Regions from separate parts of the Homo sapiens genome. Here all the other regions are linked to region 3. The links are contacts of gene promoters, found by promoter capture Hi-C in blood cells and fetal thymus (Javierre and others, 2016). All regions are on one chromosome and are shown on one strand. Each heading gives the region's core, a stretch centred on a gene start or on the middle of the fragment in contact. The rest is flanking DNA. Distances are from core to core; before and after follow the strand shown.

Region 1 (5,356 bases), core at 2,743-5,242, 1.8 Mb after region 3:
CCTTTTGTTCAGAAAGCAGGAAAGAAGTGATATTAAAAAGAACTAAAATATAAAACATTTTCCTTTCTTCTTCAGTCTCTCTCTCCTTGCCCCTCCTCCCTCACCAACCCAGGCTGGACATGCATTTTTTTTTTTTTTCTTTTTTTTTTTTTTTTAGGACGGAGTCTCCCTCTGTCGCCCAGGCTGGAGTGCAGTGGCGCGATCTCGGCTCACTGCAAGCTCCGCCTCCCGGGTTCATGCCATTCTCCCGCCTCAGCCTCCCGAGTAGCTGGGACCACAGGCGCCCACGACCACGCCCGGCTAATTTTTTTTTTTTTTTTTTTTTGTATTTTTAGTAGAGACGGGGTTTCGCCGTGTTAGCCAGGATGGTCTCGATCTCCTGACCTCTTGATCCGCCGGCCTCGGCCTCCCAAAGTGCTGGGATTACAGGCATGAGCCACCGCGCCCGGCCTGGGGCGGGAATTCTTACCTCCCTGTCCAGCTCTAAGATGGCAGGGATGGGCACACTTGACTCAATCCTCTCTAAACACACATTCAGGATTCTGCCAGGGGCAAAAGACACAGGAGAACACACACCTCCCCCAGTGACATACGCACCTCCCCCAGTGCCCTGGTCCCACCCTAGGTGGAGGGACCCACCCCAGCAGCAGGGCAGGGCGGGATAGAGGAAGCTGGAGAGGAGTATATTTCTGAGAACTGCGTAGGGCTGCAGTGAGGCAGTGGAAAGATGAGACCACATACAGGAGTTCAGTCTCCATTGTTCCATCAGAGTACACCTACAAAACACAATTCTAGCCGGGCGTGGTGGCTCACGCCTGTAATCCCAGCGCTTTGGGAGGCCGAGGTGGCGGATCACCTGAGGTCGGGAGTTTGAGACCAGCCTGACCAATATGGAGAAACCCCGTCTCTACTAAAAATACAAAAAAAAAAAAAAAAAATTAGCCGGACATGATGGCACATGCCTGTAATCCCAGCTACTCAGGAGGGTGAGGCAGGAGAATTGCTTGAACCCAGGAGGCGGACGTTGTGGTGAGCCGAGATCACGCCACTGCACTCCAGCCTGGGCAACAAGAGCGAAACCCTGTCTTGGATAAAAACAAAACAAACAAAACAAAAAAAAAAAAACACAATTCTAAGATACAATTGCTAATAATTTCAAGACATTGACCACAGAGTATTAAACTGCAAGTGTAAGGACCCTTCTGAACAGCACATGTGTGACTGCACTGATCACGTGCCCAAGAAACTGCCATAACCAGGGGGATGGGCAAATGGAGATTTTGCATACTAATATATGTGTATATATCCCCACTCACATATACAGACACATATGCATATTCAATATGCTAATGTGCCCAGTATTCATAAAAAAGTGTTAGCCAACTACAGCTCATAGGTCAAGTCTGGCCTGCTGTCTATGTTACAAATAAAGTTTTATTAGAACTCAGCCATACCTACTCATATATGTATCACCTATTGCTACTTCCTGCAACAACAGCAGAGTTGAGGAGTTGTGGTAGAGACCATATAGCCCACAAAGCCTAAAATATTTACTGTCTGACCCTTTACAGAAAAAGTTGCCAATCCCTACCTTGAGTATAGAAATACAACTGTATTTTTTAAGTTTCCTCTGACTTACTAGGATGCTGAGCTTTGAGTTTGAAGACCCATGTATCTTAAATAATAACAATGGTTTTAGAGTATTTTGCAGTATAACAAATGTGCCACATCTTTAGTCTCTTAAAAATCTAATGGCATTACTCAGCGAGTGTATCACTGATAATCATGGCATTTTCTTATTAGTGGCACATGACTTACTAGTGGCTTGGATGGGAGTGTAAATACCGTATGATTTTATATTTACAATTTTGTTTTTAGGTTGGTTCCAATTTTATTTTTCAGAGATAAGAAGGCTGATATAGAAAGCGTCTTTCTTTTTTTTTTTTTACCGGCATTGTATAAATTATAATTTTGGAGTTGTGGCTACTACTGAGTAGAAAACATCAAGTTTGAAATGACTTTAATGGAGCAATCAAAGCAAATATTCAGGGTGGGGTATCTCTGCAAAAGAAATAGATCCAAAAATTTTGGCTGGAAAAATGAGGGCAAAAAAGGATTTGAGGGTTGCTCATATCTACAGCAGTGATTCAGCACTTGGACACTGACATTAAGGATGGAGTGTAAGGACACAGGAATTATCGCCTAAATTCAGTTGAATTAACTAGACTGTTGGAAGAAGTGCATCTATATTGTATGGCTTTGTGTAAGGAGAAGAAGGCCTGCCTGCAAGCCCTAAAAGTCAGTCCTTTTTTCTTTCTTTTTTTTTTTGAGACGGAGTCTCATACTGTCGCCCAGGCTGGAGTGCAGTGGTGCAATCTCGGTTCACTGCAACCTCTGCCTCCCAGGTTCTAGCAATTCTCCTGCCTCAGCCTCCCAAGTAGCTGGGACTATGGGAGCACGCCACCACCCCCAGCTATTTTGTTGTTGTTGTTGTTTTTTAGTAGGGACAGGGTTTTACCGTGTTGCCCAGGCTGGTCTTGAACTCCTGAGCTCAGGCAATCCACCTGCCTCGGCCTCCCAAAGTGCTGGGATTACAGACGTGAGCCACTGCGCCCGGCCTATGTCAGTCCTTTTTAAAGTTAGAGAAATATAAAAGCAATAAAGAAAAGTTGAAGAATTGTACCTTTTACTTAGAGAAGACTTCAACATTGCTTCACATCTTCAAGGATTTGACAAATTATTTCAAGGAAAAAGTTAAACACCTGATTTGAGTCTTCAATATGGACAGAACAAGAACAAAGGGATTTAACTACAGCAACTACAAATCACAATAGCCTGAAACAAGAATTTTCTGACAGTAAGGAGATTGAAATTGCTGCAACAGGCCATGGAACCTTTTCCCTGGAAGTTTTAGTTTTAAATAGTAGCAGCAATATGATTTACCTGAAGACCCAGCTCATGGACCTCTGAGGTCCAGTCTTCTATTTGATTCTGGAAGCGTCCTAGAAAGACATCGTTGTATCTTTTAAAAGTGGGTAACAGCAGTGTTAGTCTTTTCTACTTGAAACCTAGCACTTACAGATTAAAGTAAAATCCTGTTCCGTTCTATTCTCTGCTTTGTGTCTTTAAAGCTGTGTACTCTTTTTCAGAAGGTTTTTGGGGAATATGCTAAGATAATGGATGACTTCTCAAGAGCCAGACTTCAGAAACTTATCCAACTACCACCTGCAGTCTCACTTCTCCCTCTACAAAATGACTGGGAGAGGGGCCATTTGGGCCTGCCTTTGGTACATGTAATCACTCGGTCCTGGTGATGACAGAGTTGCTCTCCAGTATTCTTCACACCCTCTTTCAGTCTGTAGACTTAGCACATTCTTGTCCCTGCTCCCTACGAAGACAACAGCAGTTCCAGAGGGCTTGGCTTACCCAGACCAGTATGCTAGACACTGTGGGGGTAATAACTAGGAGACCCAGGTCCTACCCTTAGGGAGTTTATATTCTAGTTGAGGAGTCAGAGTACACATTAGAACATGCCTTAAGAATACTTGCAAAGCAGCATATCGACAAGTGCAAATTAATGTAGTGTGAACTTCATGCTGGCTACAGCCCATGAGAGGGAGAATCTGGTTCCATGTGTGTGATGCAATAAAGCTTTTTTATAGCATCTTCTCTAAGTATGCCCTAAAGCATTGTTCAGCATACTTAGAGAAATTTGTGTTCTTATCGCAGCCTAACCAAGAATTCTGAGAAAATTCTTCAGCCTAACATATGTCTAATAAATCAGCCTCTTTTGTTCTTGTCCTGGATGATGCTTGAATGGGACAAGTAGGATTTATTGGATTATACAAATAATTTAAAATATGTTCATTTAATAAAAGTCTAAGTTATTGATTGAACTTATTTTTCTAAAATGCTGTGCCAAATTACTTTCTTCATCTAAAATCATCATGTTGGTAAAATCACAAAATTAGCAGTAAAAAAATATAATTCAATTTTTCTGCATAAAGAAGCAGTTCCAAATCAATCCAGTGAATAATACCGAGTTGGAGATCATTGGGGCATTTAGCATTTAGTCACGTTGTTAATGATTTAGGCAGTTGTTTTCTGAGGCAGGGTATGTATACCTCATTCATAGAAACACTGACTTTTCAATTAACATGCTCAAAAAAAGAATCTATTAATTTCTGCTTGTTATTTGATTTTCCAACAAAGATGATAATGCTGTTTAACATAATAATTTATTTTACAAAATCAAATGTATAAGCAGAGACAACACATCTGAAAATAGCAATTTAGGTATATTTAGAAGATAAGAGTACAAATAGGAAATAAAACAAGCTTTCTTAGAAATAATATGCCTTATAGGAGAAACATTAAGAAATAAATATTTGCCTTTGGATGGGAATAGAAAACTGTAAACTGGACTCTAAGAATATTCCTGTGTGCCCTGAAGAAATATAATGTTTGCTATATTTTCAGTTTCAGTGGATGACATGTGTTTTGGTTCTTTGAACATTTTTTTGCATGCTTGTTTTGACTGTAAAAGTTGACTTACCAGCCAACTGCCAACTTGCAAAGTGCCTTCTCAGGTACCAACTCTGCAGTTCTGGTAGCTACCAGGTAGTGACAGTTCTTTAAATGTGTCCATGCAGCCCAACAAGCTGAGAGACATTAGACATAAGACAACTACATATGCTTTCTTTTTGTTTATAGTCCAGAAATATTAGTACCTATATCCAATATAAATATCACTAATTACTACATATGCATACATTTAAAAAAATTTATTGTATAAACATAAGCACATTAACAGAAGCCAGTAGTTCCATCACCCAAACAGTGTAAATTGTTTTTATTTTTCTGTTTTACCTTCCACTTTTTGTACATATGCATCTATAATATTTGCAAATATAAATAGATTCTAGTTTTGGTTTTTGCTTTTTTCATTTAACATTATCTTAAGCATTTTTTCTGTGTTGCTCCTTATTCTTCATAGTGATCACTTTACTGTGGCCATTTACATATACCTGTAAGGGAAAATGATAGTAAGTTAGATTTTGAGAACAGCCACTATGACAGATTTAGAGCCCTTTTGCCCTAAACTTCATATGTTGCTTTAATTCAATAACCATATATTATGTGCACTCTACTTAGCTATAATCAATTTCTGTCAGAAAGGAGTATGTAAACCAGGTATGCCAATAAATATATGTCAAAGAGAACATAGTAGCTATCAGCAAAATGCAAAAGGCATGGGAATTTGGGAGGGGAAAGATAACATCCTTGCAGGGTGGTTAGAATGTTGCCTAGGGCCAGCCGTGGTGGCTCATGCCTGTAATCCCAGCACTTTAAGAGG
Region 2 (5,650 bases), core at 829-3,328, 1.3 Mb after region 3:
ATCATCCTTCTAGCTGCTCAGACAGAATTAATTTTTTCACTTATGACTCCTCTATCTTGTAAAACATATCCATATCAGTAAGTCCTGTGGGTTCTCACTTCAAAATATACTCAGGATCCAACCACGCCTCATTGCCACTGCTTTCGCCCAGGTTCAAGCCACCATCATCTCTCATCTGGATTATTGAAAGTTCCACTGATGTGCACGCCTGCTTCACCCTTTCCCTTGCCCCCGCATTCACCTATAGTTTACTCTCCGCACAGCAACCAGAGTGATTATCTGGAACTCCGTGTCAGAGCACCTTAACCCTTCAACTCAGCACTCTGCAGCGGCTTCTATCTCAGGCAGAGTAGGAATCTACAAGGCCCTACGTCACACCCTGGACAGTCCCCACATCCCACACACAACTCTCCTGCTGTTTCCTTAGGGTCGCTCCCTCTAACCATCTGGCTCCTTGAACAAGCCAGTGCACTGCTGTCTCCAGGCCTTTCTTTGCTCATGCTGTTTTTCGTCTTACTTGGGAGGCCTTTTTCCTTGCACATGCCCTCTTCCTCAATGGCTCTCTCTCTCACCTCCTTCTCTTCTTAAATATCATCTTATCAGGGAGACCTCCTCCACTGCTCTGTTTAAAATAGTACTCTTATGCCCACCAGCACACTCTATCCCATTCTCCAGCTTTATTCTTCTCCATAAACACTTATCACATTCTGACATACTGTAACTTTTGCTTGTTTCTTTGTTTATTGCCTAGCTTCCCGCACTACACTATAAGCTCCTTGAAGGCAAGGGTTTTTGTCTATATCGTTTAGTGCTCTATCCCCAGCAATGCCTAGAAAATACTAGGTTCAACAAAGATTTATTGAATGAATGAATGGATGTAAATAATCTCCTCACTTCCTCACTTTTGCCCGCTACCAGTATCCCATCCCCAACTGCATAACATAGCTCCTCTTACCTATCCCTAAACAAACTCCAGCTCAAATCAAAATTATGCCCATGACAGAGCCCCAGGGACTTTTAGGTGGTAATTACAGGCTTTCTCTCTCTGCCTTTCCTCAGAGCCACAGGAGACGTGCTCCAAATTTTTGCCTCTTTCTCCTTAACATCCCTGAAGGCTGAGTCATAGCACTGGAAGCTTTAGAATGTGTTCTTGCACACTGAAGGTAAAACACTATTTCTCCAAAAGTCATTACCTATTTGTCTTCCATCACTGACATAGGCCATTGTTGATTATAAGGATATTAAAGCCTGAAGCCTAAAGGCCTATGGGTGAAACATTCAATTTTTCAGTGTTATTTTGTTATTTTAAGAGCCTGTGTGACAGACATATTTAGGCTTAATAGTACCCTTAGGAAAATAAAAAGGAAAAGGCAAGATTCTATTTACTGTATATCCTTCCTCTTTCTTGGAAAATCTCACATTACATCGGAAAAACCTAAATTACATGAAGTTTACAAAATTGATTGCCTCATGAATAAACGGATTTATTATTTAAGATGCTGAGGAGCACATTTCATTATTCAGTATCCTTGGAACAAAATATTTGAAATGTGGGATGAAAAATTTTCAAGCTGCTTCGCTAAATGAGGTAGACCAAAAAGAACATCCACACATTAACATAAAACATTCATCAGGAGATCAGCTGGCAATGTGATGAAGAGAAATGGCTACATTTTTTAATTTCTAATCAGTCCCATTAAATGTGTGGCTTGTGGCCACTTTTACTGTACTGTACTGTGGAACTCACCTCAGATCATGAAGCCTGTATTTAAAGATTTTATAAACTATCCACTAGAAGGAACTAGAACCTTCTAAAATGATGAGGAAGATATGCATGACCAAACACCTTAAAAACCAATTAGTTTCATTACCTGTTTGGTTCAAGCATTGAAGTTCAATATTTCTGTAACCCACAAGCTTTCCACAAATACAGCAACCGAGAAACACTGTTTCAATTTTTAACGGTCTTGCCCAGTTCATATTTCCTGGCTTATCTCTGAACTCCCCTCATCTCCTCTCCCTAAGTCTGTTTATGATGTGCTGTTTTATCAAGGTCAAATTCCATGGGCAAGTCATCGGCTTCATCATTTGTCTCATAACATTTTCAATAAATGTTAGACCCTCAGGGTCTTTAAGACAATGTGAGATACATATATATATACATCTATGTTTACTTTAGAGAAAAACAGCAGGGGTTTCACATCTCACTGATTTTAGAACTAAGTATAGTGAAGGGAAAAAAGCTTAAAATAGGATTTTCAATCTGGAAGGAACATTTTGATTTTTCCAGCTAACTCCTTCCTTTGATAAATAAACTCAGAGAGGTAAAGTGATTTTCTTAATGTCAAACAGCCAGTTCGTTGCTGCACTAGAATTGGAACTGAGATATTTGACTTCCAGTCCTGGTTTTTATCATCATTTTTTGAAGTGGTGATCTGCATAATTTACCAATGTCTTCCTTATCCCCACATTAAGTTAGGCATCAAATCTTCAATGTATTTATTTTCTGGTCTTTCCTCCCCAGTGCTGGCACCACTGCCTGCTCCAGCCCCTCACTGTCTCCTTCTGGATACTGCGGGGTCCCTCTGCCCAGCTGTCCTGCCACAGACCCCCTCATACCAGCTGCTTCTCCATGAGGCTGCGAAATTACTCCAGCTAAAAGAACAACTCAGATCACAACTGCTTAAAAACTTCATTCGGCTTCCTATTGTCTCTAAAATCAAGTCCAAGCTCTTTGCCCTCTTTTACAATGTTCTTTGCAATTGTCTGGATCTCCAGCTCCCCCATGCCATCTCCACAAACTCTACTTTAGTCTTAGGGAGTATTTCATGTTCCTTTCCCCTGCCCACCATGGTTTTTGACATTCCTTGTTGAATTAGTCCGTTCTCACACTCCTATGAAGAAATACCTGAGGCTGGGTAATTTATAAAGAAAAGAGGTTTCACTGACTCACATTCCACATGGCTGGGAAGGCCTCAGGAAACTTACAATCACGACAGAAGGCACTTCTTCACAGGGCAGCAGAAAAGAATGAGTACAAGCAGGGGAAATGCCAGATGCTTATAAAACCATCAGATCTCATGAGAATTCACTCACTATCATGACAACAGCATGAGAGAAACCGCCATGATTCAATTACCTCCCACTGGGTCCCTCCCATGACATGTGGGGATTACGGGAATTATAATTCAAGATGAGATTTGGGTGGGGACACAGCCAAACCATATCACTTATCTATCTGGAAATACATCCTGTTTGTTTGATTACTGGGAAATCCCTAGTCATCCTTAAACAGCCATTCACTTCCTCTTAGCTTTTGTAACACTTTGGGAAAGTGTCAAGCCCACCTTGGTTCCTTCAATAATCTCTGCTGGTCCCCAGTCCCTCTCTCCAGCATGACTTGCTGGGCCACGCCTAACTTGCCCTGCCCACTGCATTAGCTCAGACCTGGCTCTGCCTCCTAGGGTGATTTTGCCTGTTCAAGACTCAGAATGTTTGGTTTCTTGATTCTCATGGCAATCTTTTTTCTTAACACTGGGTCTCTATAAATAATCATGTGTTATGACCTCCCTTGTTATCCATCCAAGACCCTGGCCATTTGCACCCAACAATGACTTCTCACACTAGGAATGTGCTCCCAAAGGCAGCTCACAGCAGGCCTGACCCATTGACCCAGGAGGATAGACAGTAAAAAGATTTATGTAGAACTTCTCATTCTGCAATGATGCAAAGTGCTTGCATGTTTGTCTACCTCTTTAAACAGTGAATTACTTAAGGTCAGAGACTATGTCTTCTTAATCTTTAAATGCCAATGTCTAAAACAGTGCCTGACATATAGCAAGCATTCAATAAATATATGAATGGGTGCAAGTGATAATGGTAACAATAAAGCCCAGTGAAGTGAACAGAAAGTTAGATGGGAAGTCATTACATTCCTGGACCAAAGAAGTTCATTCTGAAGAATAAATGGTGTAATATTATGATTTAGATAATAGAAATCAGATTCAGATACTAATTTATTTTATTATAATAAAATGCAATACAGTTGACCCTTGAACAAGAGGTTAGAGACACCAGCTCCCTGTGCAGGTGAAAATCCATGTATAACTTTTGACTCCCCAAAAGCTTAGTTACTGATCGCCTACTGTTGACTAGAAGCCTGACTCGTAACATAGTCAAGTAATACACATTTTATATGTTATGTGTATTATATACTGTACTCTAACAAAAAGTAAGCTGAAGAAAGGAATATGTTATTAAGAAAATCGGAGGGAAGTGAATATATATTTACTGGTTATTAAGAGGAAGTGGATCATCATAAAGGTCTTCATCTTCATTATCTTCACATTGAGTAGACTGAAGAGAAAGAGATGGGGTTGGTCTTGCTGTCTCAGGGATGGCAGAGGCAGAACAAAATCTACGTGCTAGTGGACCTACACAGTTCTAGCCCACGTTGTTCAAGGATCAACTGTAATTACAAGAGTAGACCATTGAGTTACATGCTCATTTCATCTGTCTGCATCAGCTAGGTTTTGCCGTGGTGACTAACAACCCCAAACCTCAGTGGCTTAAAGCAACAAAGATTTCCCATTCATTTTGCATGCCTCATGCGGGTGGATAAGGGAGCTCTGTTTATCAGAGTCACTCTGGGACTCAGTCTGATGAAGGCTTTATCTTAAAAAGTGTTTTCATGATGGCTGGAAAGTCGTGGACCAATGATTTCCACCCAAACCCATTTGCTAGAACCAGTTCCATGACTATGACTCACTTCAAAGAGACATGAAAAACAATCCTAATGCACTGAAAGGAAAGGGAAGCTGGATAGCAGTGAAGCGGTCATGTCTACCACATTCCACCCCACGGGTCACTACATACTCAGTTCTTCCTTCCCCGTGCAGAGCACACTTGCCCTGTCACATCTCTGCTCCAGCACTGCACAGTGGGTAAATGTGTGTTGGTGGTAGGGGAGGGAGTGAGAGCCTATCTTTTCAGCTCATACGTTTCTAGTTCAAGAGGAATTACATCTGACCTGACGTAGAAACAAATGTTTATTACCCACTTGTGTTAGTTTCTTAGGGCTGCTGTGACAAAGCACCACAAACTGAGTGGCTCAAAACAACAGATATGTATTGTCTCACTGTTCTGGACACCAGACAGCTGAAATCAAGGGTCAGCAGGGCCACATGCTCTCTGAAGCTTAGAGGGATAATCCTCCTTTCTCCCTCCCTGGCTCTGATGGTTTTCCAGTGAGCCTCAGCATTCCTTGGCTTGCAGCCCCAGCACTTTAATCTCTGCTTTTATTGTCACATGACATTCTTCCTTTGCATCTATCTCTTCTACTCTTCTTATAAGGACACCAGTCATTGGATTAAGACCACCCGAATTCAGTATGGCCTCATCACAACTTGATTACATCTGCACAGACCTTATTTCCAAACAAGGTCACATTCACAGGCACCAGGGATTAGGATTTCAACATATCTTTTTACTGGACACAATTCAACTGATAACACCTTCCACCTTCCGCTCCCTAATATAACCCCTCATATAGGCACTGTTGCCTGTCACCCAGAAATCATGAATTTTGAGCTCTGTGCCATGACTGGACAAGACTTTTGTGTTGATTCCCTTAGGAAGGATATTTATGTAT
Region 3 (5,723 bases), core at 937-3,436:
ACTTTGAAATACAAATAGTAATCTTTTCCATTTCAAGAGTATGCTTATTACTGGTCAAGATTTGGCCAATTCAATGTACTTAGTTTAATGCTTATTTTACTGGGAACTTTTGAAAACGGTCTAAGAATGATTATTTGAAATTTATAAACATTATTTATATATAAACATTATTCACATATATTACATATGTATATTCATTTATATAAGAAATGTATAAACATTATTTACATATATAAACACTATATATATGCCATCATGCTACCAAGTCAGTATCACAGTTGGTCTGCCTGTTAAATATTCTCATTCTCAATGCACTTTTTAATGCATTTTTAATAATCAATGATCACACTAATTATTCATGTGTGATTTATTTGCTTATTTAACTGCTTTGCTTATTTAATCTCCACTAAAGACAAGAATAAAACACTGCCTGTAAAACCCTATCCCCATAGGGACTGTCTTATTTACAGGGCCTGGTAAGTGGAAGGCACTCAATAAACAGTATCTTTCTATTGAATGAATTTGTATGTGTTCTTTTAAATAAAAGGTACCTTAGGGCATCAAGGGTTATGTGAAATTCTCAACATTAGCAACAGGAAGAACTTTTAACAAAACCAACAGAGATTTTGGACCTGAGAATGGTTAGAGGGCAAAAAGTACCAGAACTAGAAAAAACAAAAACTACCTCCATCTGATTTTAGCTAACATTACAATTCTAAGAGCAAAGTAGTGCTGCTATTTTTTGACATTTGCATCAACAGGATAGATTCAGAAGTTCTCCAGTCTGCTTCCCTTTACAAAACACTAAATAAACAATAAATAAATTTAAAAATATGTAAAGGTTTTAAAATGCCCTAAAATTATTCGAGCAGGGAGTTCGAGGAATACAAAACATCTCTGATTCTGTAGTATAGTTGTATATCGTAGGTATAGTGACCCAATCAAATTATCTTGAAGTTTAGAGTCCAGAAAAAGTACTGGCCCTTTGAAATACCCTAGATGGGGCACTTATTTAATGAGCACTCGCTACATGGTATTTTCACATGTGCAGTTTTGCTGAGTAGCTGTAAGTATTTCAACTTTGCATACGGATTTGAAATCACATCTCTTAGATTGCAAACCTCATGCTACACCAGTGCAGAACTGTAACTCTTCAACTATCATTTCTCAAACGTTTCCTAACAATATACATATGTATTTAAAGCTTTTTAAAAGCCTGCATTCCTAAAGATGACACTCTAAAGAGCAAAATGACTTACGTAAGCATGTCATAACCTGAACTTGGATCTTTAAGTTCTTAGCTGGCTTTCTGAATAAAAAGTACCGATTCAGCTCCTAGCCAATCTGCTCAAACATGCTTCAGAACACTATGCCCGCGGTATTCGGAATTGAAGAGTTTTACAACAATTACGGGGGAAACCATAGTCAGCCTAACAAACTGAGCATGCAATTTCAAAGGAAGTAAAATCTTCGAAGAACCTTCTACCCCACCTGGAGGGCCTGAAAGCAGTGCAGTGCCCCTTGGCGAAACAAACCACAGTTCAGAAACCACTAGATGCACAGGCGGCCAGTGTCCGGCCAGCAAGGCCCAGCTATGGGGCAGGACGGTGCGGGAGCTGCCCCTCTCCCAGCACCCTCCGCCCACGCCGGCACTGTCCTTGAGGGCAGCGCCCCGGGGCTGGGGGCCTGCGCGCCAGCAGCAGCGAAGTTACCTCAAAACGCCCCGGCCTCGGCCCGCCACGGACGGCTCCGAGGAGGCGCCGGGAGCGGGCCCAGTAGGACCCTCTCTGACAGCCCCCGTCCCTCCCCAAGCGCTCTCCCGGGCTGCGGCTCCATCCCTGCGCCGGAAGAGGCGTCCCGAGGCCGGGAGGCCCGCCACGCCGGCACGGGCGCTAAGCCCAGAGTCTGGCGCGGCCCGGACGCCCGGGGAATCTCTCCCGCCAAGTCGCGGGCGCCCAGGCCGGCAGGCAGGAGGGCTGAAGGTCACTGCGGGGAGGCCGGGGGATGGCGGCCTGCGCTCACCATTCGAGCCGCGTTCGGAGGCCAAAACGAGGGCACGGCCGCGCCACCCAAGCCGGGAGCCGAAGCTAAGGCTGCGGCTGGAGCCCGCACGAGGGGACGCGAGCGCGCGAGGAGCCGAAGTGCTCGGTACATGGTGCTGAGGGAGCTTGGGTAGAATTTCTGGGCGGCTGTGGCCACGCCTCCACGCCGGTTGTCAGAAACCGTTCCGCCCACCGGCCTCCGCTCTTATCCAATCAACAGCCTCACACCGACAGGTGGGGCAGGACCAATCGTGAATGACCAGTAAAGAATGAGGGGGCGGGTTAACTTTCTAGTAGTAGTGTGGGGTGTAAGGCCTTCGGATTCATGGGAAACTAGAAAGAAGGGAATTATGGGAAAGGAGGCTCAGGTTATTCTTGGAGCCGGTCTGATTTTTACGTGTGGCTGTTAGAAGGCGGGAGTATTAGTTGGTGAATCAGGTCGTGTTTGGTTGGTGAAATATCCTAGAAAGAAATATTTATTGTTTTATTTATCATGTAATCACTCATTACACGTTCTTACTACTGAAATCTTTCTTCATTTCTTCCAGATTGTATCTTCTGTGTAGAAATTTTGGGAAGTGCAGCAAAGTGTAGATAATGAAATAGTAATTATTCATAATCCCACAACTGAAAAATAAGCTACTTACTTATTTCTTTTAACTTATCATTTTGAGATCGCTACCGTTTCCTTTCTCTTCTTAGCCTATACCCTCAGAACTCTTTTTTTTTTTTTAATGTATTGTGGAAGACGTACACAATTATAGGGAACCTCGGAATTTTTATTATTTGTATATCGTTCTCCCAGTTTTTTGCATAGCTAATTTATACATTTTCAAATTAAAGGCATATTGTTTTAATATAATAGTTGATTACAGAAAAGCAGGAATTGATATAAAATTGCATCTGAACCACAGTTTTATCTTTTCTCTTTTCTATTGCTTGGAACCAGATGACAGTAAAGAGAGAGCGATCGGATGTTCTTAAAATCAAAAGTCCAGAACCTGCAAAGCCAAATTTATGAGTCAAACTTACAAACTTGCCAAACCTTTTGGTAACATTATGTTATTTTGTGACTTATAAATTTGACACATATTTAAAATATAAAAATTCAAATGAGATTGTAATAGTTGAACTACAATCAAAACACACTAGAAAACTGAATGCAAATTCTTTAAAACATTGCTAATAATGGAATGACGTTTTGTTTTTGTTCTCCTCCTTCCCAGCAGGTATCATTATTGTGTATATCATTATTTTGATGCATCCTTTCAGTTCTGTGTATTTTTTGCTTCATACACTAATATACAAACAATGGTTTTAATATTTTACTTTAAAGTTTTACTGTTGCATAATTGAACTCTATGCTTTTAAGATATAGCCATGATCTTTTAAAATTAATCATATTGGATCACATGAATATGAAATATTTTATTTATCCAGTTTCTTAATAAAGAACATTTTTCTTTGCTATTACACAAAATTATTTAATGAACATATGTTTATCATTTCTTCATAGATCATCTCTTTCTTCATTGTGTGGTGCCCCTCTTTATTGTTATTGTTGCTTGTCCTTTTAAACTTTTTTTAATATTGATATTTCTCTACCAATTTCATATTGGCTATTATTTGCCTGCTGTATATTTCTCATTTTATTTTATTTTTTGTTTCATTTTTGTTTCGAGCATGTCTCTTATTTCTACCATACAGTTTAACTTTTCAAAACCCAAATTAATAGCCTTTTTATAAATAGGTTATTTTAATCCCTTTTAAAAATTACCTATGACACATATTATGTTCTAGAATTTTTCAAAGCACTTTATATGTATTAATTCTTGGAACACTCAAAAACAACCCTATGAGATAGGTCCTATTATTATTCCTGTACATAGAAGAGAAAAATTGATGCCCAGGAACATCCACATATTTATTTGTGTGTTTTACTTCGATTTATTAGTGAAACTGATTTTCTATCTGCAGTAGTAATATGAAGTTCCATTTTTAATTATTCATTTTATTTGAAGTAAAATATTCAGTATAATATGAAGATGCTATATAAATGACTAAAATTTAGGAAATATTAACTTAGCTAATTTATTTTTATTAATTCGTAATAAAACGTACATAAAGCCTTTAATAAAGGCTAGATATCTTCATTTTAGAATGACTTATGTTATCTATTTGAAATAATGTTTTTACTTTGCTTAGAGTTTGGGTTTTTTTTTTTTAACTTTGGACTTGTCTGATAATAATATTGACCTGCTTTCTTCTTGTTGATGCTTGCCTGGTTTGTTCTTGTTTGTTTTACTTTGCTTTCTGTTTAAGGTAGGGGATGTGATTGGTGTCCTGCTGAGGGACAAGGGAAAAGTGCAATGGTTTTCTCTTGCCTGTGTTCTAAATCTCAACACCTGGCTGACAAAATTGATTGCGAGGTTCAAATTGTATCAATCAAAATGTTCTCCTTATTCAAACTAAAGACTTTTGCAAATTCTAATTTAGGATACCTCCCAGCCTGGGAGATTACCAGTGGGTTTCCTAGAGGAAGCTTAACAGAAAATTTGCAAGATACACCCATAAAAGTCTCCCAGAAAGTAGAGCAAATATTCAAAGAGAAGGAAAATAAAAGAAGTAAATAAAATTAGAGAAACAGTTCAGTATGTCCAACATGTGAATAATGTAGGGGAAACATTAGGAAAAAATGGAATAAACCTTAAAAAAATAAATTCAGAAAAATATATTGTAGAACTAGCAGATATGAACTAGCCAGAATGAGTTATGTCAACAAGAAATGTTAGAATACCAAGGGCAAAGAGAAGAGACTGGAATCTTTCAGAGAGAAAAATAAATAAGCAAAGGATTAGAAATCCTTAGACTTCACAACAACAATATCGGAAGCCAGACAGCAGTTGAATGATGTCTTCAAATTGTTAACGGAAAATTATTTCCAACTTTATATTCTATACCCAGAGAAATCAAGTGTGTGAAGAGAATTAAAATGTTTTCACATGATCAAGATGTCAAAAAATTTACTTCTTATCTACACTTTTCAAGAAAACGCCTCAAGTAAGTGCTCCACCGTAACTAGGAGTAAACAAAGGAAGAGGAAATTATGGACTTAGAAAATAGGGTCTTCGACACAAGAGACAGATGTGGCATATTGCCTGGAGGAGGCTATGACAGCTGTGCACTTACCTTAGAGAGCAACCATCTCAGATGGAAGCAGGTCACAGCCTCTGGAATAGATTTACTCAAAAAGATAAAATTGCTAATGCCTTGAATATACTGAGAAGGAATTTAGCTGATTGGGGGAGAGTTTGAGGGTTACATTTATAAGTCTTAGAAAAGTAACCAAAGGGAAAAAGCATGACAGTTATTAAACTGACAAATAAAGATAGTTGTATTTTGCAGAAAAGGGAAAATAATCATTATCAAATTTGAATGGCCATAGTTATAATAAATCAAACGTTGAATATTGATCTAACTGAAATGTTGATGTAACTATACTGAAAGGATGGGGAGATGGAAAGAATGTAGAAGTTTGGAGAGATTCAGACACGGTGAAAAAAAAAACATTAATCTTCGTCTTCAGTAGTGAGAAGTCATGATCTAATACCTAAAACCATAAACTGGACAGACAGAAATAAAAACCAAGAGGTAATCTTTAGAGATGTGGAAGTATATACC
Region 4 (5,360 bases), core at 11-2,510, 1.8 Mb after region 3:
CTCTATATGTATACAGCCTACATGTAATAATTATAAACCATAATAGTAATAATTAGCTTTTTAAGATTATACCTTTAGAATGCACTTTCATAGCCAGTATAACATATTAGAAATACATGCATATATTGAGAGTAAAACTGAGGCACTGTTGAGATGGAAAAAAAGTTATTACTTATTGTCTTAAAATGTAGATATCTAAACTAAAGCCCTTCAAAGTAGACACAAATGATTTCATGTGAACATTTTTCATACAATATTGGCTTGAGCTTTTTATTTTTCACATTGACTTCCTCCTGTATACTCATAGTAGTAATTTATATTTGCCTATCTTCTGAACCTATTGCTATTAATGGAGGATGATTATAATTGTTTGATTTCTACTCAGGACAGATAATTCATTTAATTAGAGTTACTTTGGTTTTTAAATTTCTTAAATATACCAAAAAACCAAAGCTCTATTTTATTTTATTCTGCCATGATAGCTGGTACTTGATTATCATTTAAAATGTCTGCTGTGCTGAGAAAGAGAGTGGCTGAGAAACAGACACTGTGCCTCATTTCAAGCTTTCCTCTGGCTTTGTTTAACTGGTTGACCCTTGTTTTACCTTTTCCTGATTTCCTCATCCTTTAAAAAAAAAATTATGTGATGGGTATATGATTTTACAAACTATTTTAGGATAAGGTAAGCTATACATTAACAGTCAGTTCCAGGAATGCTACAGAGCTAAAATAGCATTAGCGTTTTTTTGAAATCTCTTCGTTGGACCCCTCAATGCAGTGTGTCTCTACTTTAGGGTTCTACTCTTGGAGGTTCTATGCTCCAGAACACCATACACTTGAATTGCCTTCAATACTAGAGCCAAAAATCAAAAACTACATTTTGCTAATGTATCTTTTTTGAGATGGAATTTCATCGCATTGACACTGGCTTGGCATCAAACGCTTCCTAAAGAATCTCTCCTTCACGGAGCTGCTGCAGTTTTAGCTAGCAAATCCTCTTCCATGGCAGTTTCTTGGAGAGAGTTGTCCCTTGTATCTCAGCATTACTGAATGGAATGTTGTTTTTCCAATTTGTTAAAATAGTTTATTCCAAGCCAGTTATACTACTGCTACCCCAGCATTTTTCCATTCACTATATGTGCTTTTTATAACCACTTTCACCATCCATCTTTAAAAAAAATGATATTCACATCCATGAATCTTGTGTATTTGTGGAATTTATAGGATAGAGAAGCAAGTATTTGTATTAGTCCATTCTCGTGTTGCTAAAAATAAATACCTGAGGCTGGGTAATTTATTTAAAAAAGAGGTTTAATCAGCTCATGGTTCTGCAGGCTGTATAGGAAGTGTGATACTGGCATCTCACTCTGGTGAGGGCCTCAGGAAACTTTCAGTCATGGTGGAAGGTGAAAGGGGAGCAGGCATTTCATGTGGTGAGAGCCAGAGCAAGAAGTGGGAGAGGTGTCACATTCTTTTAAACAACCAAATCTCACCAAAACTCAGAGCAAGAACTCATTATCATGAGGATAGCACCAAGATTCATTCATCATGACCGAAACACCTCCCACCAGGCCCCACCTCCAATGCTGGGGGCCACATTTCAACTTGAGGTTTGTGGGGGACAAGCATCCAAACTATATCAAGACTATAAGCTACATTGTGATCGATTCTATGTTTATATCACATCAGTGCAAAATTGAGTATGGAGAAGGTAACAACTGATTCTTTGCTAAATCCAAACATGCTTAATTTGGCTTTTTAAAATTTATGTATTTATGTATTTATTTATTTATTTTTTGTCATAGAGGTCATTAGAACATGAGGAAACCAATATGCCTACTATGCACGACCTTGTTCATACTATTAATGACCAGTCTCAATATATTCATCATTTAGAGGCAGAAGTTAAGTTCTGCAAGGTAAGTTTCTCATTAAGAATTTAAAACTAAATAAATGAAAGCTTATATTAACTATAGATTGTATTAAAATTTGCTGCTATAAATCTTCATGTTTGTAGCAATACATTGACAATTGCTATTCTTACGTGATTGAGAGACTGATGTGTCACAAGAGCTTGTCAGACTTGGGAATGATGCTCTTGACCATACCATTTCTGATTGCTTGATTTCCCAGTAGTTCATTACTATGTCTAATGATTTCATAATATGCTTTCATATTTCAGAAGTTTTCCTTCTCACCCCGCTTGCTGTAGCCCAGCAAATGGCAAATGCTTTGGAATACAAATACCAATCATTCTCCCATACTTGTCAACCTACTGGAGCAGTGGTACAGCAATCAGGGATTCTAAACTGGTAGACCAATTCTTCTCCGCTGTCAGTATTAAGGCTCTTACTTTGACTTTGAATGAGAATGGTTCATAGGGTACTGACAGTAATGATCAAGAAACCAAACACATCATATATAGCTTATGACACTAGAAGGTTATATGCTCAACTGCGTGCAGTTTGCTAATGTCATTAATGCTAATAGAGCCTTTTCATCTTCCCGAAGTATGTCGTGTTTTACTTTTTTTTTTCTGTTTCTTTCTCTCTTTCTTTCTTTCCCTCCCTCTTTCTTTCTTTCTAGTATCAGTGTATTCGATTGTATGATATTTTTATAGGAATCACTGATATCTCTTGTATCATGTTTTTATATATAGTATATGATATTATGTATTATATTGTTGACATTTTAAGATGCAAGGCCAGTATGTAACTTAAGGAGGCTTTAGATGTTTCACTGTCCTGATTTTACCGGGGAGTTTCTGATCTTAACATGTAATTTCCTGTTTGTTCTTGGAGGACACAGTTATTAATATACACGTGGTCCTGGATTACCAGTAAAGCTGAAATAATATCCTAGGAACTATTTCATTAACAATACTCTATTAATCCCTAAGATGTTGTGGATAAAACTTGAAAGATATAAAGCAGAATAAATTTACTATCTAGTTGAGAAGACAGAACTATTCCCTATTAACACCATAAGGAGCACATTAGAGAACATAGTATAGGCCTTTACTTTTTGGTATAAGCTATAATTATAATAAGAGAAGAAGGTTAGGAAAAGCTACTGTCTTTGGGAATGTTTCTATGGGAGAGAGAGATCTTGAACCAATGTTTTTTTTTTTTTTTTTTTTTTTTTTTTGATGGAGTCTCGCATTGTCGCCAGACTGGAGTGCGGTGTCACAGTCTCCGCTCACTGCAACCTCCGACTCCCTGGTTCAAGCTATTCTCCTGCCTCAGCCTCCCCAGTAGCTGGGATTACAGGCCTGCGCCACCACGCCCAGCTAATTTTTGTATTTTTTGTAGAGACGGGGTTTCACCATGTTGGCCAGCATGGTCTCGATCTCTTGACCTCGTGATCCGTCCGCCTTGGTCTCCCAAAGTGCTGGAATTACCGGTATGAGCCACGATGCCCGGCCTAAACCAGTCTTAAAGGAATAGGATCATTTAGATCAGCAGAAGGGAGATGAGTTTCATAAAGAGAATGGCAACAGTGAAACACAGTATTCAGGATGAATATGGTTTGTGGGGGCCATAAGCCATCTACTTTATCTTCCTGCAGTGGAGAATGTCTCATAGAAATAATGAAAGTAATCCTGAACTGGTAAAATGGAAGATTACGGAAGCCTTGACTGTCAGACAGAGTGTAAATTTGATACATTTTAGTAAGAGAAGAATAGAATTAAAATAATGTTTAAGTGGTTTAGAAAGATTTTGTTTATTTAGTTAATGGACTTTATTTTTTAGATCAGTTTTAGGTTTATAGAAAGGTTGAATGGCAAACACATAGAGTCCTGTATCCTCCTTTCAGTGACATCCCTCACCTAATAGTTTCCCTTGTTATTAACATCTTGCATCAGTGTGGCACATTTGTTACAACTGATGAACCACTATTGTTAAATTATTATTATCTAAGTCTCTCAGTTTGCATTAGCTTTGTGTTATACATTCTACGAATTTGACAAGTGTATAATGACATATATCCACCATTACAGTATCATATAGAATAGTTTCACTGTCTGAAACATCCTCTTGCGCTTCACTTATTCATCCCTCTTCCCCTCCGCCCCTTCCCTCCCATCCCCTGGCAACCATTGATCTTTTTACTCTCTCCATAGTTTTGACTTGCAGAATGTCATATACTTGGAATTATTCTGTATATAGCCTTTTCTGACTGGCCTATTATACTTAGTAATATGAATTCAAGTTTCCTCCTTGTCTTTTCATAACTTGATAGCTCATTTCTTTTTATTATTAAGTAGTATTCAATTAGATGAATATACCATAGCTTTTTTATCTGTGCACCTATGGGAGGGCATCTTTGTTGCTTCCAAGTTTTGGCAATTGCGAATAAAGCTACTGTAAGCATTTGTGTGTCAGTTTTTGTGTGGACATCTGTTTTTACCTCTTTAAAGTAAATACCAAGAAGCTCAATTTCTGCATCATATGGTAAGACTAATTTTAACTTTGCAAGAAATTGCCTAACTTTTCTAAAGTGGTTGTACCGTTATGCATTATGCAGTAAATGAGAGTTCCTAATACTCCATATCCTCATTAGCATTTGGTGTTGTCAGTGTTTTAGATTTTAGCTGTTCTAATAGATGTGTAGTGGAACCTCATTGCTGTTTTAATTTCAATTCCCTGATCACAAATGATGCTGAGCATCTTTTCCTATGCCTATATTCCACCTATGTAACATCTTTGAGTGAGGTGTCTGTTCAGGTCGTTCACCCATTTTTAAAATCAGGTTATTCGTTTTCTTAGTGTTGAGTTTCAACAATTCTTTCTGTATTTTGGATGCCAGTCCTTTATCAGATATGTCTTTTTCAAGTATTTTCTCCCAGTCTTTGACTTGGCATTTACTTCTCTTAACAGTATCTTTCAATGAGCAGAAATTTTTAATTTTAATGAAGTTTAACTTACCAATTTTTTTCTTTCATAGATTGTACTTTTAACTTTGTGTTTAAAAATTTATTACCAAATCCAGGTTCACTATATTTTCTCCTTTCTTCTTCTAGTATTTTATAATTGTTTATTTTACATTTAGATCATGTTTGAAGGATAGTTGTCCATATTTTTGGGTCTATTTCTGGGCTTTCCTGTTCCATTGATTAACTTGTCAATTCTTTGGCCACTATCACTCTATCTTGATTACTGTAGCTTTACATTAAGTCTTGAAGTTGGGTAATATCAGTACTCTAATTTTGTTCTTTTTCAATATTGTGATGAGTATTCTGGGACTTTTGCATCTCCCTGTAAACTTTAGAATCAGTTTGTCGATATCCACAAAATAGGATTTGGATTGGAATTGTGTTGGATCTATTGATCAAGTTGGGAATAACTGGCATTTTGATA
Region 5 (5,386 bases), core at 2,252-4,751, 1.8 Mb after region 3:
TGTCTGTATTTATTATAGCTTTCACCAGAGGGAAGCATAACTATGCATAAAACTTACAGTGCTTACTAAGGCCATTTCCATCTCCATTAAAATCAAATGTGACTATGAAATTTCTAATCATACAGCATGTAAGTCACATGAGACCTGGGGTTCTTTCTACCATTTCAGGGGAAAAGAGAGGTTGTGTGAGGTGGATATTGTACATAAGGGCCACTGGAATAAGACTATAAGATACTATAGTACCTTACTTTTATTAGGATTTTTAAAAATTGGGATTTTACTATGCAATCTGTGTATGTAACTAAATTACATTTGTACCCCATATATTTATACAAAAAAAGACCTCCCCAAATTGGGATTTTTGAAGTCATATTTCATTATTGGGTGTTATAAATAAAGATATTGTAAAAGTGGCCAAAATGAAGTTAGAGATTTTTTATTTCTGGAAATGCAGAGTGGGAAATTTACAGTAAAGGACAATCATGAACTTTACCAGAAGTGGAAGATCCTTATAAAACTAAGTAGTGAATACTGTCTTGAGTCTTTCCATTTAACTTACGATTATTACATAATTTTTACTTCAGTTGTATGTTTAAGGGGAGTGAACTAAATTTTCTCTTAGTTATATTTAAGGAAACTTGATTATTATATAGTATTAAACAAAAGATGCCTGTGTGTAATGATATATTCAACATTTCATTTTAGTATTTTGATCTATCATTTGAAGTATTCCAATAATTTTTATCCATGAGCAAATAAGAAATCAGTTAAATTGGATACTTACGTATTTCGTGTAGTATAAACATGATATATAATTGAAAATATTAGAACACTTGGTGTTTCTGGTTCCCTTTTTTAAAATTCTGACTCATCTGTGGCCGTCATCAAGGTTCATTACCTGAATTTTGTCATTGATTAATTAATATGGCTTTAATCATGAAAATTGAAATATGTCAATAAATGTAACATTTGGATACTCTTTTAGGTCAATAAGTGGTATTGATAAACAATAAAAAATTATTCTAATGGGCTTTATAGTGAGTTTTTGCTATTTTAAATATACTTAAAGCTTAATTATGTCATTTTACCTATATTTTTTCCAAATTCTAACCTCCTCTTTCAATCTGTTCTATCCTGGCAGGCTTTAATCCAGTGTGACCAGTTGAGGAAGGAGCTGGAGAGGCAGGCGGAGCGACTTGAAAAAGAACTTGCATCTCAGCAAGAGAAAAGGGCCATTGAGAAAGACATGATGAAAAAGGAAATAACGAAAGAAAGGGAGTACATGGGATCAAAGGTACTTAAGGACTCTGCTGTTATCCACATTGCAGAAGAAAGGTTTTTTATGATGCCATTGATGATTCCATAGGCTGGAGTTCTTGAATGAACTTTAAATTTTAAAATCGTTATTATATAAGTAGTTAAATTTCGTATAATTTAGAATTCATAAAAATGTTTTATCTTTTCATATATTTCTCAATAGTTTATGCTGATCTTTTCAAATAAAATAATCAGTTAGATTCCATACAATGAAATTACAAAATTTACTTTAAATCCTGCCATTCTGTTGGATTCCCTCTCTCGTGTTTCCCAGAGTCGTGCTATGAAGATACCCAGATTTTATTTCAACCTTGGCTAAATCAAGGAGAGATGACTTCCCCTGCATTATCTCCTACCCCTAAATTAAATATGCAGAAGATGAAACACTTGTAAGGAACTGAGTAACCAAGAAAAAGTGATTATGCACTCTGTATGAAATCAGTTCTGACAAATTACATGATGAATAATGACGGTAACCAGATGAAGGGAGAGATTTAAGGCAAAAGGAACAGATAACATGAAACAAGCAGTGTTTGAAAAGGAGTTCACAAACTAGAATACAGAGTTGAGTGGGACCTAGCTTTAAAATTGCTAACTAGACTCGAATTGAGCAAGTTGTGGTCCATCAAGTAACCAAAACAACTGTGTTACATGTTTGTTTTTAAAAGTGGACTCACAGCTTGTACTCTAAATGCTATGTTGTTATCAGATTCAATGTGTGATAATTAACTTATTCAGTAAGTATATACTGAGTATGTGCTGTGTGCAAAGCAATGTGGAGGCCTAAAGATATGTAAAGAGAAAAATCACAACTTCTGCCCTATGAGTTTTAAGTCTTAATAAGAGTAAACTCAGGCATTTCCTGTAAATGTCCTTGTCTTCTTATCCATTTTTAAAAATTGTGTCTGTCAAAACCCTACTACCTACCTTCTCTGCCCTGGATTGGTGATCTCTGCTGGTAAAAATCACACAGCCTTGCAGATGACATGGCTGTAGACTCCAGGTCTTCGGTGTCCACGGTCCTTTCAGTGCTTTCTAGCAGTCCTCTTTTGCCTTCCTCTCTCTTATTCATTCCACACTCAACAGATATTAACCAGAGGGGCTGGGAATGTTGTAGTCACAGGAACGATGCAGTTTCCTCATGAAGCTTACAAACTCGTAGGAGAAGTAGATGTTACACAAATGTTTTCATAAGTGAGTTTTCGATCATCATTGTGATAAAGCCATAAGGTTCGGTTTAGGATATCGTGGGAATGTGTAACAGGAATCTGACCTTGTCTAGGCAGTCACGAAAGACTTTCCTGAGTAAGAGATGTTGAAAATGAGACCTGAAAGCATTGATGAATGGACAGGTGAAGAGGGGAAGAGGGTTTCAGGCCCAGGAATATAACACACCCAAGACTCTGGACCTGGAAAGCATCGCACTTTCTAGGAATTTGGAGAAGGCCCTGATGGGTGGAGCATAGAGAGAGAGGAGCAGAGTAGTGGGAATGAGTTTGGAGAATTATGTTGGGATGGAATCATGAATGGCTTTAAAATCCATATGAAGGATTTTCAATTTTGTCCAAAAAGGGATGGAAAGCCATTGAATGGCTTTGAATTTGTCAGTGTCACGATGCCATTTATATTTGAGAAAAATCATTTTGTCAGTGGATTGGAAGGAGAAGCAGAATAGATGCCTGGAGATCAGCTGGAGGTCATTATCGTAGTCCAGGTCTGGAGGTGACTCACAGTCCAGGTCTGGAGGTGATTATCATAATCCCCCTCTGGAGGTGATTATCATAATCCAGCTCTGGAGGTGATTTTCGCAGTCCAGGTCTGGAGGTGATTATCACGGTCCCGGTCTGGAGGTGATTATTGCTGTCCAGGTCTGCAGGTGATTATTGCGGTCTCAGTCTGGAGGTGATTATCACAGACCCGGTCTGGAGGTGATTATCGCGGTCCCGGTCTGGAGGTGATTATCGCAGTCCAGGTCTGGAGGTGATTTTCGCGGTCCAGGTCTGGAGGTGATTTTCGCGGTCCAGGTCTGGAGGTGATTATTGTGGTCCGGGTCTGGAGGTGATTATCGTGGTCCCGGTCTGGAGGTGGTTATCGTAGTCCAGGTCTGGAGGTGATTATCGTGGTCCCGGTCTGGAGGTGGTTATCGTAGTCCAGGTCTGGAGGTGATTATCGTAGTCCAGGTCTGGAGGTGATTATCGTAGTCCAGGTGGGAAGTGATGGTATCTTAAATGCATTTCTTTAAAGACTGTTTCAAATCACTTGTTCTTCTCAAATTCTCTATAATACCATTTTTCCTCTTATTCTCAGCAGAGAGCCTTACTTAACTAACAAAGAAAATGGAAGCCGTTGGGTGATGACCACCTCAACTATTTCTCTTGTCCATGCCTTAAAATAAATTTTCACCTGTATTCCAACCCAGTCTGAATGGGAAAGGTGTCTTCCTAATCCCTTCCCCTTCCCATGGACCTCGTCTCCTTTCACCCCCTCAAGGAACTCATTCCATTTGTTTGTTCCACTTTTCTGAATCAATCTTTCCTTCACTACAGTCTCTTTCTTATCCTCAGGAAAATATTTTCAGATGTCTCTTACTGTTGAAAGGAACAATCTTTCTTCTAATCTGTGGTTCTTAATTTTTGGCACGCAAGAAGTTCTAAAAATCTGATTGTCCAAACAGTACCCCACACCCATTACATCAAAATGTCTGAGAGAAGCATCCAGGTGTCAGTGTGTTTGAAACTCACCTAGGTGATTCCAATGTGCAGCCAAGGTTGGAAACCACGTCAGTAATTCCATCTCCCTCTTTGACTCTTTCTCTTAATAGTCGAGTTTCTTGAAAGATTTGTCCATACATGTTGTCTTTATTTTGTCACCTCTCACTTACTCTTCAGCCCACTGCATTTCAACTTCCATGCCACAGCCAGTGAAATTACCATTGCTATGTTCACTGAAGATCTGTTTACACTATATTTACTGATTTTTTTTCAGTCTTATTCTCCTTAAAAGATTCTCTATGATTTCTTTGAATTCATATTCTTGATTTGGGAGAATGATGATGTGTGCTTTTTACATTACTCTGAGTTTAAAGTGCCTTTGAGACAATAAAGGAGACACATCCAGAAAGCAGCTTGATAGGAGGTTCTGGAGTTTAGCAGGGAGCTAAAGATTTAGGTGTCTTTAGCAGTACTATAGCTTGAATTCCATGTATATATAGCCTTAGGACCTAAAGCTTCAAGACTAAAGCTATTTGATTTCTAGATCCTTAACTGTATACTGAGCTCCCAAACCAGCTTTACTTTCCACCTCCTATCCCAGTGGATCCACTATTTATCCAGTTATCCAGCACAGAAATCTTGTCACCCTTTTCTCCCCCGTCTTTCTCACCCCACACATCTCATCATCACCAGGCTCTAAGACTTAAGCCCCTGAGCATTTACATTGCCTTGTCTCTCTATCCTACTGCTACCATATCTCATCCTTGGATGGTTCCTATAGCCCCTGTGGTGTCCTTGCCTCCAGTCTCACCTCCTTCCTATCTGTTCTCCAAACTGCAGCTGGGATGATCTTTCTCAATATGTCAGTCTCTTGCTTTAAAACTCCTTTCACGTCTCCCTGCAACCTTGAATAAAATTTAGGATCCTTTATCATAGCATGAAGACTCTACAATATTGTTCCTCTCTTTGGCTCTCCGGTCTTATGTTCCTTCATTTTTCTTCTTTGCACCCTCACCACACTGACCTACTTGTGCTTCCCCAAGCATGTACATATGCCTCTCTTCCATACTGTTTTTTCCAGTGCAGGATATTGCATGTGCTTTGCCCTCTGCCTAGAGGAGTCTTCCTCTGCCCTCTTTAACTGATTCTTCAGAGTTGTTTGTTTGTTTGTTTGTTTGTATTTGAGACAGGGTCTCACTCTGTCACCCAGGCTGGAGCTCAGTGGGGTGTTCACAGCTCACTTAGCCTCGACCACTTGAGCTCAGGTAATCCTCCCACCTCAGCTTCCCAGGTAGCTGGGACTAGAGAGGTGTGCCACCATGCCTGGCTAATTGTGTTTTTTATAGAGACAGGTTTTT

What was found. The method cuts DNA at HindIII sites, captures the fragments that hold promoters and counts their contacts. A CHiCAGO score of 5 or more calls a contact.
Region 1: a fragment that was not itself captured here is called in contact with the fragment with the promoter of FH in region 3 in 2 of 17 cell types (activated CD4 T cells and total CD4 T cells); the score reaches 6.9 in activated CD4 T cells.
Region 2: a contact is called between a fragment that was not itself captured here and the fragment with the promoter of FH in region 3, in 1 of 17 cell types (total B cells). The highest score is 5.7, in total B cells.
Region 4: a fragment that was not itself captured here is called in contact with the fragment with the promoter of FH in region 3 in 6 of 17 cell types (total CD4 T cells, activated CD4 T cells, total CD8 T cells and 3 more); the score reaches 13.8 in total CD4 T cells.
Region 5: a fragment that was not itself captured here is called in contact with the fragment with the promoter of FH in region 3 in 5 of 17 cell types (total CD4 T cells, non-activated CD4 T cells, total CD8 T cells and 2 more); the score reaches 10.5 in total CD4 T cells.

Annotation. Positions count from the first base shown.
Region 1 is chr1:243,347,899-243,353,254 of GRCh38, forward strand. All of the region lies in intron 12 of SDCCAG8 (SHH signaling and ciliogenesis regulator SDCCAG8), which reads left to right. Among named protein-coding and RNA genes, the nearest start is that of MIR4677, 4.4 kb to the left of the region's middle. The HindIII fragment of the contact is 687 bases long and covers 3,650-4,336 here.
Region 2 is chr1:242,787,094-242,792,743 of GRCh38, forward strand. No RefSeq gene overlaps it. Among named protein-coding and RNA genes, the nearest start is that of PLD5, 270 kb to the left of the region's middle. RefSeq lists a silencer at 914-1,208. The HindIII fragment of the contact is 326 bases long and covers 1,916-2,241 here.
Region 3 is chr1:241,517,569-241,523,291 of GRCh38, forward strand. It overlaps FH (fumarate hydratase), which reads right to left and starts at 2,187. Exons shown (of 10, transcript NM_000143.4): 1 at 2,023-2,187. The coding sequence starts at 2,154. RefSeq lists silencers at 1,622-1,891, 2,067-2,349, 2,172-2,301 and an enhancer at 1,965-2,561. The HindIII fragment of the contact is 3,380 bases long and covers 1,203-4,582 here.
Region 4 is chr1:243,272,738-243,278,097 of GRCh38, forward strand. It overlaps SDCCAG8 (SHH signaling and ciliogenesis regulator SDCCAG8), which reads left to right. Exons shown (of 18, transcript NM_006642.5): 4 at 1,806-1,919. Among named protein-coding and RNA genes, the nearest start is that of SDCCAG8, 19 kb to the left of the region's middle. The HindIII fragment of the contact is 1,396 bases long and covers 563-1,958 here.
Region 5 is chr1:243,329,399-243,334,784 of GRCh38, forward strand. It overlaps SDCCAG8 (SHH signaling and ciliogenesis regulator SDCCAG8), which reads left to right. Exons shown (of 18, transcript NM_006642.5): 10 at 1,142-1,294. Among named protein-coding and RNA genes, the nearest start is that of MIR4677, 14 kb to the right of the region's middle. The HindIII fragment of the contact is 2,079 bases long and covers 2,463-4,541 here.